4 separate regions of the Homo sapiens genome follow, and regions 2, 3 and 4 are each linked to region 1. Evidence: promoter capture Hi-C in 16 types of primary human blood cells and fetal thymus (Javierre and others, 2016). All regions are on one chromosome and are shown on one strand. Each heading gives the region's core, a stretch centred on a gene start or on the middle of the fragment in contact. The rest is flanking DNA. Distances are from core to core; before and after follow the strand shown.

Region 1 (4,355 bases), core at 1,343-3,842:
ACACACTTCTAAGAATATATCCCTTAAACTGTACTCTCACATGAAATGCTGTGTGTGGAAAGCTATTCATTGTAGCATCATTTTTAGTATGAATGTGTGGGAATAAAAACTATCAGCAGGGGCTGTGTCACTAAATGATGGACGGCCTCTCCATCACTGACTTTGCAGCCAATAAAAAATAACAAAGCATCCATTCATTCATGTCTATTTACCGAGTGCCACTAACCCTGGGGACAAATCCACAGACCAGAAGTCATGCCCTGGTGAGAAGGAGACAACAAACACATAAGTCAAATGGGGAGGGAAGTGCCAAGGAAATAGGATGACAGGAAACAGGATTTTGAGGCTGCTGCAGCCTCAAACAGGGTTGTCAGGATGGACTCGCTGAGACTTTTGAGCAAAGGCTGGGATCAGAAAGGACCAGGAGCCTGTGCCTGCGCTGGAGCGGGGGGAAGCGGCGGGAAGCGGCGGGAGAGAGGGGAGACAGGGTCAGGAGATGAGGTGAGGGCAGATCCAGCAGGACCTCCAGCGTTCCTGGAGAGTGAGCTGGCACGCAGCCACGTGGTCCTATTTTCATATTTTAAAAGCATGCCTTTGGCTGCTATGTGGAGAGCAGACTGAAGGGTTGAGGGGATGAAAGTGGAGAGACCAGACAGAGGCCTTTGCAATAATCCAGGCAGCTATGATGGTGGCAGGGAAGGTCCATTGGTCCCTCCCTCTGCTGCAGGATGGTCTACAAGATACATTGTTAAATGAAAAAAGCAAGATGTGGAACAGTGTTTTGTAAACTAGCACTCATGAGACACAGCACACACACCTATTTATGCTTCATTGAGTATAGAATCTATTGGGAAGATCACTTCAGAATGATATATTGCTGCTTCATGGAAGGAGAACTGGGTGGCTTGTGGACAGGCACAGCACAGAAATTGACCTTTTCATTTATATCTTTTTGTACCTTTTGAATTTTGGACCCTGTACATAGAGTATATTGCTTATTAAAAATTAAATTACTTATTTTTTTAAAGTACCTTAAATATTTGAGAGAGGAAAATATTTGCACATAGGAGATACAGAGGATTATTCAAAATTTTTTATTTGTAAAGAATTCCTTGCCGGGTGTGGTGGCTCACACCTGTAATCCCAATACTTTAGGATTTGAGCTTAGGAGTTTGAGACCTGCCTGGACAACACAGGGAGACCCTGTCTCTACTTTAAATTTATATTAAATAAATTTTATATTTAAAAAAATTCGTAAAACCTATAAGGAAAATGGACAAAGGCCATAAACAGAGGAGGAAATACAAATGGCCAGTGAACAAAGACACCCACTCTCATCAGGAACTAAATGACAAGATGCCATTTTGAGCTGACAAGTTGACAAAAATTAAATCATTTTAAAGTCAAGGACGGGCCGGGCGCGGTGGCTTGCCTGTAATCCCAGCACTTTGGTCCGCCATTGCACTCCGGCCTGGGCAACAGAGTGAGACTCGGTCTCAAGAAAAAAAAAAGAAAAAAAATTAAATTAAATTAAATTAAGTCAAGGGTGGGAACTCTGTGGAAATGAAGCTTCTGAAGCTGTCCGGGAAGAGAAGCGGCCCCTGGTCAGGCCGAGAACCCCACAGCAGCAGCCCCGTCTTCCCCCAGCTCACTGCTAGGCGAGGCTGCTCCTGCGCCTCCGGGCTTCCCAAAAATCCAGACGCAAACTGCGCGGCCTCTGCGTTCGCTTCCCGGTTCAAGTTACCCAGTAAAGAGGAACCTCAAACGCTCTGCCCTCGGGGCCCAGCGTCCAAACCCAGCCTGGGCAGGGCCGGCTCCTCAGGGGTCCTCGGCCGCCTGGGGGCCACAGGCGTCTCCCTGGTCCGTATCCAGAGCCTGCTTCTCAGGAGAACGCTGGCTCTGGGGCCAGTCCTAACCCACGAGGGCTCCTCTCGACCACATCTGCAAAGGCCCTATTTCCAAATAAGGTCGCATTCCTGGGTCCTGGGCGGACACGAACCTGGGGCCCGCGCATCCCAGCGTCGTCGCCGCCGCCAACCTCCGGCACCGCGCCGACCCGCGCGGAGTCTCCCCTCCATCATACGCGAGGATTTCCCTTTGGAGTCTCGCTCTGTCGCCCAGGCTGGAGTGCAATGGCGCCATTTCGGCTCACTGCAACCTCCGCCTCCGTGGTTCAAGCGATTCTCCTGCCTCAGCCTCCGAGTAGCTGGGATTACAGGCGCGTGCCCCCACGCTCAGCTAATTTTTGTAGGGGGGTGGGTGGGTTTCACCAGGTTGGCCAGGCTGGTCTCGAACTCCTGACTTCAGGTGATCCACCCGTCTCGGCCTCCCAAAGTGCTGGGATTACAGGCGTGAGCCACCGCGCCCGGCCGGATTTCCCTTTTAAATGTGAAGGCACCTCCATGCTCATCGCGAGCCTGACGTCCACGCGGCGCCCACCCGCGGGCGCGCCTGCCCCGGGCGCCACCTGCCCGGCTGCCCCCGCACCCGGCTCCGCGCAGCTCTGCACGCTGTCGCCCTCCGGCCAGCAGGGGGCGCCGCCCGCCCGCCCCGCGCAGCCGCCTCTTCCCCGGAAGTCCCGCCTCGGCCGGAAGTCGTGCGTCCACGCGTTTCGAAAGATGGCGGCGTCCAGGAGCGCGGGAGAGGCCGGCCCGGGCGGCTCCCAGGGACGCGTGGTCCGCATGAAGCGCAGAGGCGGGCGCGGGCCGCGCCGCGGTCCTGCTGGCGGTGGGGAGAAGGCCCTGAAGAGGCTGAAGCTAGCGGTGGAGGAGTTCGTGCACGCGACTTCGGAAGGCGAGGCTCCCGGGGGTTGCGAGGGGCGCGGCGCCCCGGTGAGCTTTCGCCCGGGAGGGAGAAAAAGCCGTAAGGAACTGAGGAAGGAGAAGCGGCACCTGCGGAAAGCACGCCGGCTGCAGAGGACGGCGGGCCCCGAACAGGGTCCCGGCCTGGGAGGCCGAAGCGGAGCCGAAGAAGCCAGCGGTCACCGGCAGGACACGGAGGAGCGCGCCCGCCCAGCCCCTAGTCGGGACCCCTCGCCTCCCAGGAAGCCGCGGCCGTCCCGGGTCAAGGCCAAGGCCACGGCCGCCACCGCAAAGACCAGACCCTCCGCAGCCGCCACCGCCGCTGCCCGGAAACGGGCGCTTTTAGCGGCGAACGAGGAGGAGGACCGAGAGATCCGAAAGCTGGAGCGTTGCCTCGGTTTGAACAAGCGCAAAAAGAAGGACGGCAGCAGCTCCGTGCCGCTGAGCTTTGCACGCGACGGTCTTGACTATATTCTGGGAGCCCTGGAGTCTGGGAAAAATAGCGGCTTGTACGACAGCAGTGGTGAGGAGGAGGAAGATGCCGGACAGACACTCCCCGAAAGTGACTTAGAGAGTGACTCCCAGGACGAAAGTGAGGAGGAGGAGGAGGGAGACGTAGAAAAGGAAAAGAAGGCGCAGGAAGCAGAAGCGCAGAGCGAGGACGACGACGAGGATACAGAAGAGGAACAGGGGGAAGAAAAGGAAAAGGGAGCGCAGGAGAAAAGGAGGGGGAAGAGAGTCCGTTTTGCAGAAGATGAAGAAAAGAGTGAAAATTCCTCGGAGGACGGTGACATAACGGATAAGGTATCGTGTGAACACTCTCTAGGCCCTCTGGGATTTCCTTCAAAATAACGGGACAGGGAATGGGGCGTGAGGCAGAAATGACACAGACTTGGTGTCTTGATAATGGTTTCAGCTGAATGTGAGTAAATCGAGTACGTTACTCTATTCGGTCTTCTTTCATGTTTTTAAATTTTCATAATGTAAAGTTTAGGAGAAAAGCAATATAGAGACATTTTTATCCCGGGGACTTAAGGGCCATTTCCACAGTGCAGCATCTTCATTCTGTGTTTACCAGCCCAGGTCTCTAAACCTGTTAACCCTACCTCATCTGTTAAGGCCTCTTTCGAGTATCCGAGGACATCTGCCGTGCCCGACTTTTAGAGTGAATTTTCTAAAACTCGAAGCTAATTTACAGCACTCCCTTAGATAAAGTCCAACATTGAATTAAAGATAAAGGCTGAGGCGGGGCAGATCATTTGAGGTCAGGTGTTTGAGACCAGCCTGGCTAACGTGGTGAAACCCCGTCATTACTAAAAATACAAAAAACAGCCGGGCGTGGTGGCAGGCGCCTGTAATCCCAGCTACTTGGGAAGCTGAGGCTTGAACCAGGGAGGCAGAGGTTGCACTGAGCCGAGATCGCGCTACTGCACTCTAGCCTGGGCGAGAGAGCCAGACTCTGTTTCAAAGAAAAAAAAAAGTTCAGAATCTAGGACGTAGCAATCAAGGCATTCATGGGCTGTCATCTTGCATATTTTATCTCAGCGTTCCTTT
Region 2 (4,355 bases), core at 504-3,003, 1.3 Mb before region 1:
GATTGTTTCATCTGTTAATTTGGTTTTTTGTGGAATTCTTCTGAAGATCACCACTGAATTATCCTGAAAAATATTTTCTGAGTTAGGCATGCCATCCTCCACAGTTCAAAAAATAATGAAAGGTGATAAAGAGTTCAAGCCATTTAAATATGGATGTATTAACGTGCTTTTTAATAGAGACCATTTTTCAATGAGTTGCTTGCAAAACATTTTTTTTGGGGAGTGAGTTCTCACAGTTGAATAATTTTTTTGTTTTTTTTTGAGACAGAATCTCGCTCTGTCACCCAGGCTGGATTGCCGTGGCGCAATCTCGGCTCACTGCAACCTCCGCCTCCTCGATTCAAGCAATTCTCCTGCCTCAGCCTCCTGAGTAGCTGGGATTACAGGCGCGTGCCACCACGCCCAACTAATTTTTGTATTTTTAGTAGAGACGGGGTTTCACCATGTTGGTCAGGCTGGTCTCAAACTCCTGACCTCGTGATCCACCCACCTCAGCCTCCCAAAGTGGTGGGATTACAGGCGTGAGCCACCGCGCCCGGCCAGCATTTTATTATACGTACCGTTTTATCATCTCTTCACCCATCCACCAATGCATCTCCTGTATGGACGTCTTGATTGTTAACTCACGGCACTGGACCTCCAGTTTCATGCCTCTCCACATTGCAGGGTCCTCTACGTTGTTGTATCAGTCACCTTTCTAAAATACAAATCTTACCATGTAAATTGTTTCTAAAATCTTTCAATAGACCCCATAGACTCAGAAAAACGTCCCAAAGTCCGGAATCCTGGCCCCTGCCTACCTTTCCAGTTTCATTGCTGGGTCAGAACGCCTCACCTAAGCCCCACATTGACCGATATGGAATCAATGTTTACAGCCGGTGTGTACTTAATCAACCCCCTTCCCCGACTGCGACCACTCAGATGCGCCTTCCCGGGCCCCACACCCCAAAACCCCTGAGCCCTTTCGTCCACAGCTGTCTGACCACCCAGCACCCTTTCCTTTATGTCAAGTATGAGGATTTCGTTTCTTAACCTTTCTCACTGCTCAAAATGCAAACTCAGACATGAGTGCCGGGCGCTATCCGTCCTGCTCACGTCTTGTTCTCAGGGCCGCAAGGCGCAGGGGCAGTAAGGGCCGAGAGCCCATCAGGGTCCGGCGCTGCCCGCTGCCCAGCCGGGCGCGGAGAAGGGGACGGGGGTCCGGGGTCGCGGGTCCGGAGGGTCTCGGGTTGTAGGAAGTGAGGGCTCGCGGGCGCCGCACGAGTGCGCGTGCACGTTAGCCCGGCGCGCGCGGCACTCATCTCACCTCGCGGAAGCACCTGCCGGAGCTGTGTGCACCCTTTCCTGCCCTCAACACAAGCCGTCGGCGTTCACTACTGTAGCTCATTCAGACCCCACTCTCCAACCTACTGTCCAGGCACAGAAACGACAGTTAAGGTTCCCCCGGACCGTACGCTGGACCTTGCCTCCCCGGCTCCTAACGGGAGACGGGCTGCCGTAAAGCTTCGCTTTGCCGACTGCTGCAAAGCGCCTTACGACTGAACCCGGAATCGACCTATGGCCAGCAGTCGTCCCCGCCCTGCTTCAAACATTTGGGTTTCAGGAGCCGGGCGGAGGTGACTGCCGCGTGTTTGCGTTGCACGCCCACCGCCCGAAACACGGCGGCGGCCTCAGGGCTGCTGCGGCCTCGGCGGGGGCAGGCCCCGGCGCCCGCCCGCCTCCCGGCCTCCATCATCCCAGGGTGCACCGCGGCGGGCGCGGGCGCGCGGCCATGTTGCGGTAGTTTGTTGTTTTCTTCCTGCGGAGGCGAAGGGCCAGCTGTGGACCGCGAAGCGCCCGGCTTCGCCTCTGCCTCCTGCAGCCCCCTCCCTTCTCTGTCCTCCGTCACCCGTACCCGGGCCCGGACCAGGCACGTCGGCCCACCAGCTGGCTTGGTGGGGGAGGCTGAAGGCCGGGCCCCGCGAGTGCCATGGCGGCCGCCCTGGGAGCGAGCGGAGGAGCAGGCGCCGGAGGTACGTGAGGCAGCCGGACTCTGGGGGCCAGGACCGCGCCGCGGTGGGCGGGGGTGTAGGCCGGGGGGCCTCCCCGCTTAGGAGAGGACGAGGCTCTCCCCGGCTCCGACTCTCTTTGTGTTCGGCCTATTCCGTTTTCTCCCTCGCCTTCCCTCGCTATTGTCATTCTCCCTTTCTCGCTCCTCCTCTCCGCTGTGCAGATCGTACTTACCTGTGAACTTCTGTGTGTCCTCTACTTTGCAAGGCTGCCTAAGTGTCAGGCCCATCTCTGGCGTTGGCGGGCATTAAGTGCCGAAGCCGGCCTGGTGTCCTATGGGTAGGAGAGCGCCCCCCCCACCCCCCGAGACAGTGTCACTTAGGGAGAGCGGGGCAGGTCGCTGTAGGGTGGGTGTTTAAGATTGTGGGGCCATCCTGACAGATTTAGATTGATTTGAAGCCCATTACAAAAACATAACGAAAAGATTCACCTGTGTGAAGGAATGTGCGACAGTAGGCCAGTTTGGAAAGTGAGATTTCTTGAGAAAGTCTCAATAAATCCCTGTTTTAAATTAACTTATTTGTTGTCTAATAACCTGTTAGTGTTTTATGTGCGTCTTCCAAAAGTGAAAACGTGACACAAAAGGTTTAGATACTGAGTCAGTTCCTTTGGATAGTTTTTCTTGTTTGCAAGCATAAACAGTATTGATGAAACACCTATCTCTAAAAAATTGTAGGTAAATTACTTTCAGGTAAAATTACATATCACTGGGGGTTTTAAAAACGTGGAGAGATACTTGAAAGTGACTTTTTAAGTGATTATTTTGAAAACTTTGAAAAGATGGTAAAATATGGATAACAAAAGCATTTGGGATTAGTTCTTACCATTGAAACGTTGAAAAGCCAGTCTAGTGTATACTCGAGAAGTATTTTTTAGTAAATGCTAGCAGATGGTTACGTTGTTATCATCCTGTTTAGGAATTTTGGCCCAACTGTCAAAACGTTTGCCTGACAAAATGGAAAAACAAAAAAGACTAAGTGTAGGAATGTCGCTTCTGGCAATTTGGTTTGCTATATGCCACTTTTCTTTCAGTTTAAATACATGATGTTTGCGTGTTACATCTGAGACTAATTAAAATTTTAAAATGTATAGTTCACCTATCTTTCTGGGGGTCAGAATTACTTGTTTTATAGCATTCCCAGTGTAACCTGGGAACTCTTGGGTGAACACTCTTTTCATTAGAAAGACTAAGGTGTTATTTGTATTTTTTCTCTTTTCTTTCAGTAGTGTACAGTGGAGTTTTCTAGAGGCTGAATAACATGTGAAGACGTTATGCTGATGGCTAATGGAATATATGCTTGTGTATTCTTTTACGTTTCTCATTTTAAATTTCTAAAATAGTAATATCACTGAATGTAATCCAGATAAACAGGCATTTTTGGGTCTTCAATAATTTTGAGGTCAGAAGTTTTGAGAATTGCTATTTTAGAAGAATAAGTAGGCTTTATTCATGATGCTTTGGAGTTTTTCCTTCCATTTTGTCACAAGTGCCAAAGTTTCCTTTGCTCTTCATACCAAACTCCTTGCCAAGATTTGTGAGTTCTGTATGACTTGGTCCCTGCCTACCCCACCAGCATGTTGTGTGATTGCTTCCTTTATCCTGGAAGTTCATCGCATGGACTGCTCCTGTACCCGCTCTTGCCAGGGCTGACTCCTGATCCAGTGGATCTCACGCTTTTAAGGGAGGCTTTCCTTGAGAATTCATTGTATCTGAGGAATGTATGTCCGTTGCTCTTGTGCCTCTCTTGTCTTCATTCTCTAGCACCTTTGTTTGTTTTCTTCAGAACGTTTATCTTAATTTGTAATTTTCTTCAGTTTTTACTTGTTTTTTAAATCTGCCTCCCACAGTAGCCTGTAAACCTCATGAGGACAAAAATGCTACCTGTTTTACCATGCGTTCCACGTGTTCCTGGCACATAGCATGTGTTCAACAAACATTTGGTGAATGAATTAAAGGATGAAATGTTTTCTTTACGAATAGGAAATAATATAATTGTATGCTAAGTTATGTTAGTCATTTCCACGTGATTTACCTGTGTAACTGATTAAATCATGTTAGCTTGGAGAAATATTTACATTGGTAATACCTTATTGAGCTATCGATAGCTTATTTGGCAGCTCAGTTTAGCATATTGTCTAGCACAGTGACTTTCAAACTTCTTAAAATGGCAGCCACAGAAATGTGATTGACATTGTGATTTAGTACATACATAAAAGTTAAAAAAAATTTCATGAACAATACTGGTCCATACTATGCCATGCACTCTAATGTTTTCTATTTCATTACAGTAAAATGCTGGTTGTGA
Region 3 (4,355 bases), core at 1,118-3,617, 1.2 Mb before region 1:
AGGAGTGCCTTGAAAATTTCCATTATAAAGTTTTATGATATCATTTGTTGCTATATAACAGGGTCCCCAACCTTACTGGCACCAGGGACTGGTTTCTTGGAAGACAGTTTTTCCGTGGACTGGGGTTGGCGGTGGGGAATGGTTTCAGGATGAAATTGTTGCACCTCAGATCATCAGACATTAGAGTCTTATAAGGAGCTGGCAACCTAGATCCCTCGCGTGGGCAGTTCACAGTAGGATTCATGCTCCCGTGAGAATGCCGCTGCTGATCCGACAGGAGGCGGAGCTTAGGCAGTAATGCTTGCCTGCCTGCTGCTCACCTCCTGCGGTGCATGCAGCTCAGTTCCTAACAGGCCACAGACTGGTAGTGAGGGTTGGGGACCCCTGCTGTATAAGGTACAAAAACTTGTCTTGGATATAAGCAGCTCCAGAGCTTACCCAGGCAGGGCTTCTTTCTGCTGAGCAGGTTTGTAGGAAGAGTCTTTCCTTGAAAGTTGGGTAGTCGGCATCACAAGACTCTGAAGCACCCCACTTTCTGTGTCTTCTGGTGTCTGCCTGCCCTGAGGACACTGTGGTGCACATGCCTCCAGGAAGCAAGAGACCACCGAGAGCCAGACCCACTGGGAAGAAAAACCAAGTAGCTGCATCCCAACCTGCCACTGGGACCGAAGAGTCTGTCAGTCTGGGCCCAAGAGCTTCCCAAGCAGGGAGGGGTGCAGCGGCAGGCCCAGGAAGGCCCACCCGGCCCCACGGAATGAGCAGAGGTGGCACTAGGAGGTGAGGTCTCTGTCTGCAGGGACTGTCTCATCACAGGCCTTATTCCTGTCTTTTCAGGCCATTTCTTAGAAAGTCGTCAACGAGGTATGACACCATCACATCAGGACCCTTTCTTTATGTTACAAGATCTGCATAAGGAAATTTTAGTTTTTTTGAAACAGATGAGGAAGAGAAAGGCTTTTTGTAATACCTGTATTTCTGAACTTTAAATAGAGATCAAGCCTACTTAAAAAATAAACTTTCCTTCAATGGAAAATAAAAGTTTAGAAATTTATTTTTCAGAGTTCTTATCTGACGTTAATGTCACCAGACATAAATTTTCACCAGTCTCTTACCCAAAATAATGATGAAGAGAACTTTTTCTTATTCGGGGTATTTATTGACTCAATGTTTATGTTCTTTTTTTTTTTTTTTTTTTTGAGATGGAGTCTCGCTCTGTCTCCCAGGCTGGAGTGCAGTGGTGCGATCTCGGCTCACTGCAAGCTCCGCCTCCCGGGTTCACGCCATTCTCCTGCCTCAGCCTCCTGAGTAGCTGGGACTACAGGCGCCCGCCACCGCGCCCGGCTAATTTTTTTTGTATTTTTAGTAGAGACGGGGTTTCACCGTGTTAGCCAGGATGGTCTCGATCTCCTGACCTCGTGATCCACCCGCCTCGGCCTCCCAAAGCACAGTTTAAAAATTATCAAATTACTACAGTGTTATGTGTTTATCACCCAAGTACACATACACATTGTATACCTTACAACATGCAAATAATAACATCCTCCTTTTGGTGCCACCTATTGTTGTTAAAGTTTCCTCTCTAGACCATCTTGTTTCAAGCTTTGGATTGCCAGGGAAACCGGCCAGAGCATTCGTCTTGCTGTCCGTCATGTTCTGTGAACATCGTTCCCTCCAGGCCAAAGGTACTGTCGCCTCTCTTTCTGCCACGTGACACTTCATGTTGCTGGGCTGAAAGTTGGCCTTTTATTATCTTAGTGGTGTAGTAAATAGGTGTGTACTGATTGACAGTGGCTGTAACCTAGTATTCTGATGCTATAATCTCTCTTAGCACATTCAGAACTACTTAACTTTAAAAAGTACAGGCAACTATTTACTGATCTATTCACTAAATATTTCAGTGCCTTCTGTGTGCATGAGACATTTTGGTAAGCTGAACAAGAGATTCACTGGGGTCTAAACCACTGGCTTCTCTCAAGCACTTACAAGACAGCAAATGTTGTGGTCGGCATCCTTGGAGACCTAGTTGGTTAAGCTACCAGGGAGCTGATTTAGATTGCTTAAGTTCATACGATGGAAGTCCTTCTTAGAGAGCAAACCTTCCACAGTCCATGCATTTGCCCACGTTAGTGGAAAGGGTAGAAGTTGGAGAATCACAGTCAGTAAGACTGTTGGGTTGCTGAGTTGTGTGGAGAACTGAGTGGTCTGATGTCCCCTCCACCTAACATGGGCCCTCATGGGACCTGGAGGTTGGTGTGAAGTGTTCGCGCTTGTAAAGAGGAGGAATGTTTTCAGTGGCAGTACAGCTGAACACGTGCATAGTGAATTTATGAATCTCATACTAAGATTGTACTGTCAGGCAACAACATTGCAATAGGATTTTGGATAAATTAATGGTCACTGGTTCTCATGAAAGATGAGGGTATGTGGTATATATTTTTAAATTTTAAAACTTTTTAGTATAGAAAATTTCAAGCATGTATAAAACTAGAGAGAATTCACATAGTTTTTTAAGATACAGACTGAAAAATTGTGTACTCAGTATAGGCCCTCCCTGCCTGGTGGGATACCTACTCACACCTTGGGTAGAAGACCTTGTGGAGAAGATTTAAGAGGCACAAACTACCAGCCTGACTTTGGATTTTGCGAGCGGTCTGCCTTTTCACAGTGCTTCCATTTTCATGTGGGGGTTGGGGGTAGCCCCTGTAAGACAGGAGCGACTCCCAGTAAGATCGCACGTTTCAGGCGATGATAATTCAAATGGTAGAGTCATAGAGCGTTAGGTGGGAGAACCCATCTGGCTCAGTCACCCGCAGCCCTGGCTGGACGATAGCAGATATACACACGGTCCTTTCCTTTGTGTAGTGTGTTCCCTTGGTTAACCGGGGGGGTGTTAAACCAGCCCTGCGCTTCTGGGATGAATCTTACCTGGTCATGAGGTGTGATCCCTTTTCCGTGTTGCTAGATTTAGTCTGCTAATATTCTGTTGGGGATTTTTTTTCATGTATGTTTATGAGGAATATTCTTTTGCAGTTGTCTTCTCTTTTGATGCCTTTGGCCTTGTATTAGGGTAATACCAGGCCCAAAGAATGAGTGGGGAAGTGCTTCTGCCTTTTCTGTTTTCTGAAAGAGATTGCGTAAGCTTGGTAGTCTTTCTTCCTTAAATATTTGGTAAAACTTACTGGTGAAGCTATTTGGGTCTTTGTTTTTCTTTGTGAATGGTTTTTAATTCATTGTCTTTACTTCTTAGAGTTCTATTCGTATTTTCTCTTTCGGTCAGTTTTGGTACTTGTGTCTCGTTGAATTTGCTCATTTCATGTAAATTGTCTAGTGTGTTGATGTAAAGTTGCTTGTAATGTTTTTTAAATTTCTTAGGGTCCATTGCGGTGATCCCTCTTTGTTTCCTTATTTTGGTAATTCATCTTCTTTCCTTTTTTCTTGGTCAGTATCCTTAAAGGAGCATCAATTTTTTGCTGATCTCAAAATACCAACTTTTGGTTTCACAGATTGTCTTTTTTCTGTTTACCATGCCGTTGCTTTTCGCTGTCATCTTTATCATTTTCCTTCCTTCTACTTGGGTTTGATTTCCTTTTTTGAGGACGGGGGACTAGCTTCTTGAGGTAGAAACTCAAATGACTGATTTTAGATGTTTTTCCTTTTTGATGTCATTGCTTAAGTTGCAGCCCCTGAATTTTGATGTGTTGTATTTTTGTTTCCATTCAGTTTAAATATTTTTTGTTCAGTGTTTGTATTATTTTTATTTCTCAGCCTAGCTTCCTAGGGGTTGACCCGACTGCTGCGTAGCTTAGTGGCCAGCCAGCGCCTGGGATGAGCTTGTGCTCAGGTCTCTGGACCCTGCATGGCCCCCCATGGCCAGTTATCTGTGTGTGGGTTGGGGCTTCCCAGGCAGCCATGTGGGGAGAGCCCATCTAGGCCTTCTCTAGCACTTTCCGTTCTGGAATTTCCTCATTAGGTTTCTCAGATTTCTGGCTGGTGTGCTGCCTGTTCCAAACTGAACCATGACCAGAGGCCCACAGACCCATGGGCTTCCCTGTGCCTTTCCCTCTGAGGGTGCTGTATGGCCAGTGCTGCTGGGGAACTTCAGGCCTTACTGAGTTTCGGCTCTGTGCTGATGGAGCTGCCACACACTGCACTGTCCTCACAGCTCAGGAATAAGTGCTTCTCCATTCTTTTCATTTTCTTTGATTTCCAGAGTCCTCAAATGTTGTTTTGGAAAATTTTGTCCAGCTTACACTTGTTTTGGAGAGAGAAGATTTGCAGACATTTTCATGCCACGTATTCCTGTGTGACATTTTTCATCTCATCTTTTCTTGAGTCCCTGTTTCTTTGTACAGTCT
Region 4 (4,355 bases), core at 1,229-3,728, 1.1 Mb before region 1:
CTTTGCAGCAGGGCTGCAAGGCCCAAGCCCTGGGAAGGTGTGCGAGCCCAGGACCCCTTCTGCGGTATTGGCCTCCCGCAGAGCAGGGCAGAAGCTGACCCACTCTGGCTCTGGGACCTCGGGTATCCACGCCCCCGCCGCTCTCTCCGCAGTGCCTCCCTCCTCTCGGGTTCCGAGGGACCCTGGCAAGGCCCCTCCTCCGCGGGGAGTGAGGGTGACGAGAGGATGGGCGCCTCGGGCTAGCCGGAGAACTCCCTCCAGCCAGCTGCACGCAACGGGCACCCCATGGCCCGTGCAGAGTTAATTGTGGATCGCGCTGCTGTCTGGCACTGGCGCGCGCGTCCACACTCGCGGTCCAGATTTAAGGTGGTCGGGAGCAGATGAGGGAGAGCAAGGAAATCAGGACCATTTCCCATTCCTCTCCCTTCCGACAGCTGGAGCAGGCTACCTTGCCTGCCCCTCGCCTTTCTCGGCCTCAAGCAAGCCTGGGAATCGGGTCGGGAAGCAGGGCGGCACGGAGGTAGCTCCTCTCTCTCTGCCGTCAGTACCCTCCCCCTGCACTTGCGCCCCACCAGCGCCACTCCATCAGCCGCTGTACGCACCTAGCCCTAAAGGTAGGACTTGAATATTTTAATAGGGCAATAAAAAGGATGTTGACCTATATTTGCAAGGAAACCCATTTCTGGCTTCAGTTATACGTGCATGGAGTTTCAGAAAGTCTAGAATTGGCTGGGAGATTGGCAGCTCAGAAATCTCAAAGGAGGTGGGGAGAGAGAGAGGAATTCATATTTTGCTTAGCTTCCCCTCCCCCCACACTAATATTTATTCGCTCTTAATTCTTATGCAAGCAGGTTGAAAACTAAAGTGATGCAATGCCAATAAGTTCTAAGTCCCTCCCCTAAGGTACCTCGGGCTTGGAAGAACGAAAGAGCATCCTTAAAGAAATATCAATACATTCACACTCTGATGGGCACAATTGCGGACACGCAATCGCAAAGCCAGCTCTGCGATACAGCCAGCCACCCAGGGACGGGCGGAGTCTCCCCTGGAGCCCCTGCCTTTTGTCAGAACCGCCTCCTGGCTTTTCCAGTTGAGAATTCTTTGGTGGGGAGGTGCAGGGTGGGGGTAGTGGTGGGAAAGAAAACCACAGAGGCAACGGGAAACGTGGGGGCTCTGAGCTCCAATGCCCAAGGCTACGTTCGTTCGTTCGTACAGTACCAGGAGACCACTTCATGTTTGTGGGAGGGGGATTCCCAGCCTCTCCTTCCATTTCCACTCCTGACTTGGAAAGGGCCGACGCCCCCAAAGTGAAGGTCTCCCCAAGTTACAAGCCAGGGCAGAGGTAGGATGGGGAAGGCCATTGTAGCAAGACTCATCAAATCAGGGCCATAATGAACCACGTCTGTTACCGTCCTCACCCCCACCACACCCTAAACTTCTCCAGCTGGACCCTTGACCTCCATTCTCCTCCAGGAAGAGGAAGAGATGGGGGGCGGGCAGGTGGGTGGGGAAGGAGCGGGTGAAATCACCTTCCTATCTGCCCGAAGAGCAAACAGAGTTAAGTCTGGAAGTGTTCGGCTTCTCGTAACCCCCTGGAAAGCCACACATTCCACGCCCCGGCGCTGGGTTCCTACCTGAGTCATCAGCCTGTCCGCTCCGGTGTTTTCTTCATCCTTAAATATGATGTCGGGGTTGTAATTGGGGGTGAGTTCCTTAAATCGCTCGGAGTTTCTGGAGATCTTCCCTTCATACCTTCCGCTGGCGCCTAGGGTCTTCTCGGCCACATTGGGGATAAACTGCTTGTAGGCTAAAGGGGTCAGCTTTTTGGGGTGCCTCCTCTTCCCGAACCCCCTGCCCGGTCCGCACGCCAGTCCCGAGCATACCAGCAGCGAGGAGACGAGGACTAGCAGCAGACATCTCGCCAGCAGCAGCATCTCGCCCATGGAACTGATGACTTCCGAGCTGTCCCCGTGCGGGTCCGTGCGCGAGTGCGCGCGGCGGGTGTGTGCGTGTGCGCTCTCTCTTGCGCTTTCCCTTCCTCGCTCCGGCTCGCCCGCTCGCTCTCTCCCTCGCTGGCTGCCTCGCTCTTTCTCTTCCTATATAACCTTGCCCGCCGCGGCTGCGGGGGACTCTCCACCGCTCCCCACCCAGACAGGGGCTGGAATGGCAGGCTGCCGGCCGCTGATAACGGAACACATCGGAGTTGGGTCGCGAGACAGCAATCAAAAGACAAAAAGAGTCTGATTTTAAATGGTAGCAAGCCTGGAGAGCTTGTGAGAGAGGCTGCCTTTAGCACTATATTATAGCTGCCAGGGGCGCATCTGATTGGCCAAAGCCGCACAAGCTTGTCTTCTGATGTTAACCCTGAAGAAGACTACGTTTTTTTTTTCTGTTGCTGCTGTTGCTTTATTTTCACCTGAAGGATTCGAGTTAAAAAAAAAAAAATCTTTCCTAAGATAAAGGTGGGCGGGAGGGAGGAGCGCATGTCTTGTGGTAACAGCAGTTACTCCCGGCTTTGTGTACATCCTTGCGTTTCCCCCTGACTTTCCCTGGAATGGTAGGTGCTTCAGTTAAAACCAACTTAAGTTTTTAAAGGACAGTTTAAACCCCCGCAAGCTTCAGTCATCAAGCACAGAGTCGCTCACACATTTGAGGGGCACAGCTGCCCAGCTGTTATTTAATTTTTCTTCCCCAGGGACTTTATAGTGCAGGCTGGCTCTCCCTGCATTTTGAAGAAAGAGGACTGAGCCCCTCCTGAAGACTCAGCCTCTGTGGACCGAGGATAATTATGAGTGACCATAACTTAAAGCACTGGTATTTGAAATGCTTTAAGTGCCTTAGAAAAATGTAAAAATACTGCTCTTTTATTGTGCTTCAATTAATACATTTTTTTTTTTGTAGAGCTCTGCAAATGGGATGGAGGCGTGCTCAAGGGCAGTTACAGAGTGAACTGCGGGCGTCAGGGTGGATGGGCAAAGCAGGTCTGGGGGCTGCACCCCAGCACAGGGGAGAGAGTGGGGGCCAGTGTGTGCGCTGGGTGTGTGGAGGCCATTGCAGGGTGTTGGGGGGGGGGCAGGCGAGTGGGCGAAGCTGTGCTCACACAACCCCCACGATCGATCAGAGCAAAGTGCAGAGCCAGGGGTGAGCTGAATGTGGAATTCAGGCTCCTTGCAAAGCTGGCCTTGTGTGGGGGCTCAGCAGGCCAGCAGTCTTCAGGCACAGGAGCCACCAGTCCTAGGGGCTGCAGCCCAAGGGGTCAGGGGCCCTGGGGGAACAGTGTTCTGGTTAACGAGGGGCTTCCTAGAAAGAGGGCACAGTGCCCAGGAGGTGGCAATCTTTGAGTCTATAATCACCTCACTTTTTGCAGAAAAAGGAAAAAAACTCAAAAGTCCTAAGTAAACCAGGAAAATAAAATTTGAAGCTCCCTCTCAACCCTGCTTTTCTTTTTTTTTTTAAAAAAAAAAAAACAGATCATGCCCTTCCCCTTCTCAATCGCCATCCCACTCATGTGCAATGATTCCTCTAGCATAGGATTAGAGAGTGAGGGTTATTTACGTGGAGGGGAAATCCTGACCCTGAGGAGTCATCAGATGCTGCAAATGTGGCCCTGTGAAGTTAAACACTCTCCCTTGACCCCGGGCCCTTGGAGTGGAGGGGGAGAGGACCCCTGTGAAGCTCAGCCCTCAAACGATGGAAGTTTCCAGAAGTTCCCTTTGCAGATCAACTTTTTGTGTGTGTGGTGGGGGAGAGAAGGAGAGGAGCATCTTAGGACACATCTGTCTTGGGCATGAGAGGCTGAGCGTTAACAAGACTCGGTGGCCTGGGTGCCTTTGGGGAGGTTGACCCGGGCTCCCCTTCCCGCCTCTCTTTCTTGTTCCTTTCCATGGTTTGTGACGAATCGTGATCCCTGGAGGAGAGCACCGTGGGGGAGCAGCGTCCACTTGACCAGGCCCCGGCAGCCTCCACTGAGCGGAGCTGGAGCTCAGCTGAGCCCAGGGATTCTCCAGGCGGTGTGTCTGCGCTGCCTGTCCCGTTCCCAGTAAAAACAGACACAAAACAGGACCCGTGTTCTCTCCAGAGGAGGCCGGCCTGTTTGATGTGTCTACCTGCACAGCATGTGGATGTCACATCACTGGGTGGTGCCTGGGCTGGACCAGCGACCTGGCCCAGTGGGACATTTGCAAACTTTTGACTGCCCTGCCTTCCACCCTTGGCATCTCCTCTTGCCCCAGTCCCTCCTCCTCCCCCTGTCTTTCCCCGCTACTTACTCCCTTCCAAATGCAGGCAGAAGGCCCCCCACACGGGTTGCCACCCTGGGGCCTGAGAGATTGGGTGTGCAGCCCTGCCGGGAGGTG

What was found. The method cuts DNA at HindIII sites, captures the fragments that hold promoters and counts their contacts. A CHiCAGO score of 5 or more calls a contact.
Region 2: a contact is called between the fragment with the promoter of RBM33 here and the fragment with the promoter of NOM1 in region 1, in 3 of 17 cell types (total B cells, non-activated CD4 T cells and naive B cells). The highest score is 10.3, in total B cells.
Region 3: a fragment that was not itself captured here is called in contact with the fragment with the promoter of NOM1 in region 1 in 1 of 17 cell types (M0 macrophages); the score reaches 5.2 in M0 macrophages.
Region 4: a fragment that was not itself captured here is called in contact with the fragment with the promoter of NOM1 in region 1 in 2 of 17 cell types (M2 macrophages and M0 macrophages); the score reaches 6.0 in M2 macrophages.

The regions. Positions count from the first base shown.
Region 1 is chr7:156,947,120-156,951,474 of GRCh38, forward strand. NOM1 (nucleolar protein with MIF4G domain 1) reads left to right here and starts at 2,593. Exons shown (of 11, transcript NM_138400.2): 1 at 2,593-3,605. The coding sequence starts at 2,619. RefSeq lists an enhancer at 1,745-2,273 and silencers at 2,334-2,683, 2,964-3,013. The HindIII fragment of the contact is 6,978 bases long and covers 1,568-4,355 here.
Region 2 is chr7:155,642,908-155,647,262 of GRCh38, forward strand. RBM33 (RNA binding motif protein 33) reads left to right here and starts at 1,754. Exons shown (of 18, transcript NM_053043.3): 1 at 1,754-2,012. The coding sequence starts at 1,970. RBM33-DT (RBM33 divergent transcript) reads right to left here and starts at 1,499. Exons shown (of 3, transcript NR_126344.1): 1 at 1,307-1,499; 2 at 561-697; 3 at 1-63. RefSeq lists an enhancer at 693-1,647 and a silencer at 1,572-2,081. The HindIII fragment of the contact is 4,649 bases long and covers 1,502-4,355 here.
Region 3 is chr7:155,758,240-155,762,594 of GRCh38, forward strand. All of the region lies in intron 14 of RBM33 (RNA binding motif protein 33), which reads left to right. Among named protein-coding and RNA genes, the nearest start is that of SHH, 52 kb to the right of the region's middle. RefSeq lists an enhancer at 176-470. The HindIII fragment of the contact is 1,540 bases long and covers 1,598-3,137 here.
Region 4 is chr7:155,810,189-155,814,543 of GRCh38, forward strand. SHH (sonic hedgehog signaling molecule) reads right to left here and starts at 2,275. Exons shown (of 3, transcript NM_000193.4): 1 at 1,635-2,275. The coding sequence starts at 1,934. The HindIII fragment of the contact is 272 bases long and covers 2,343-2,614 here.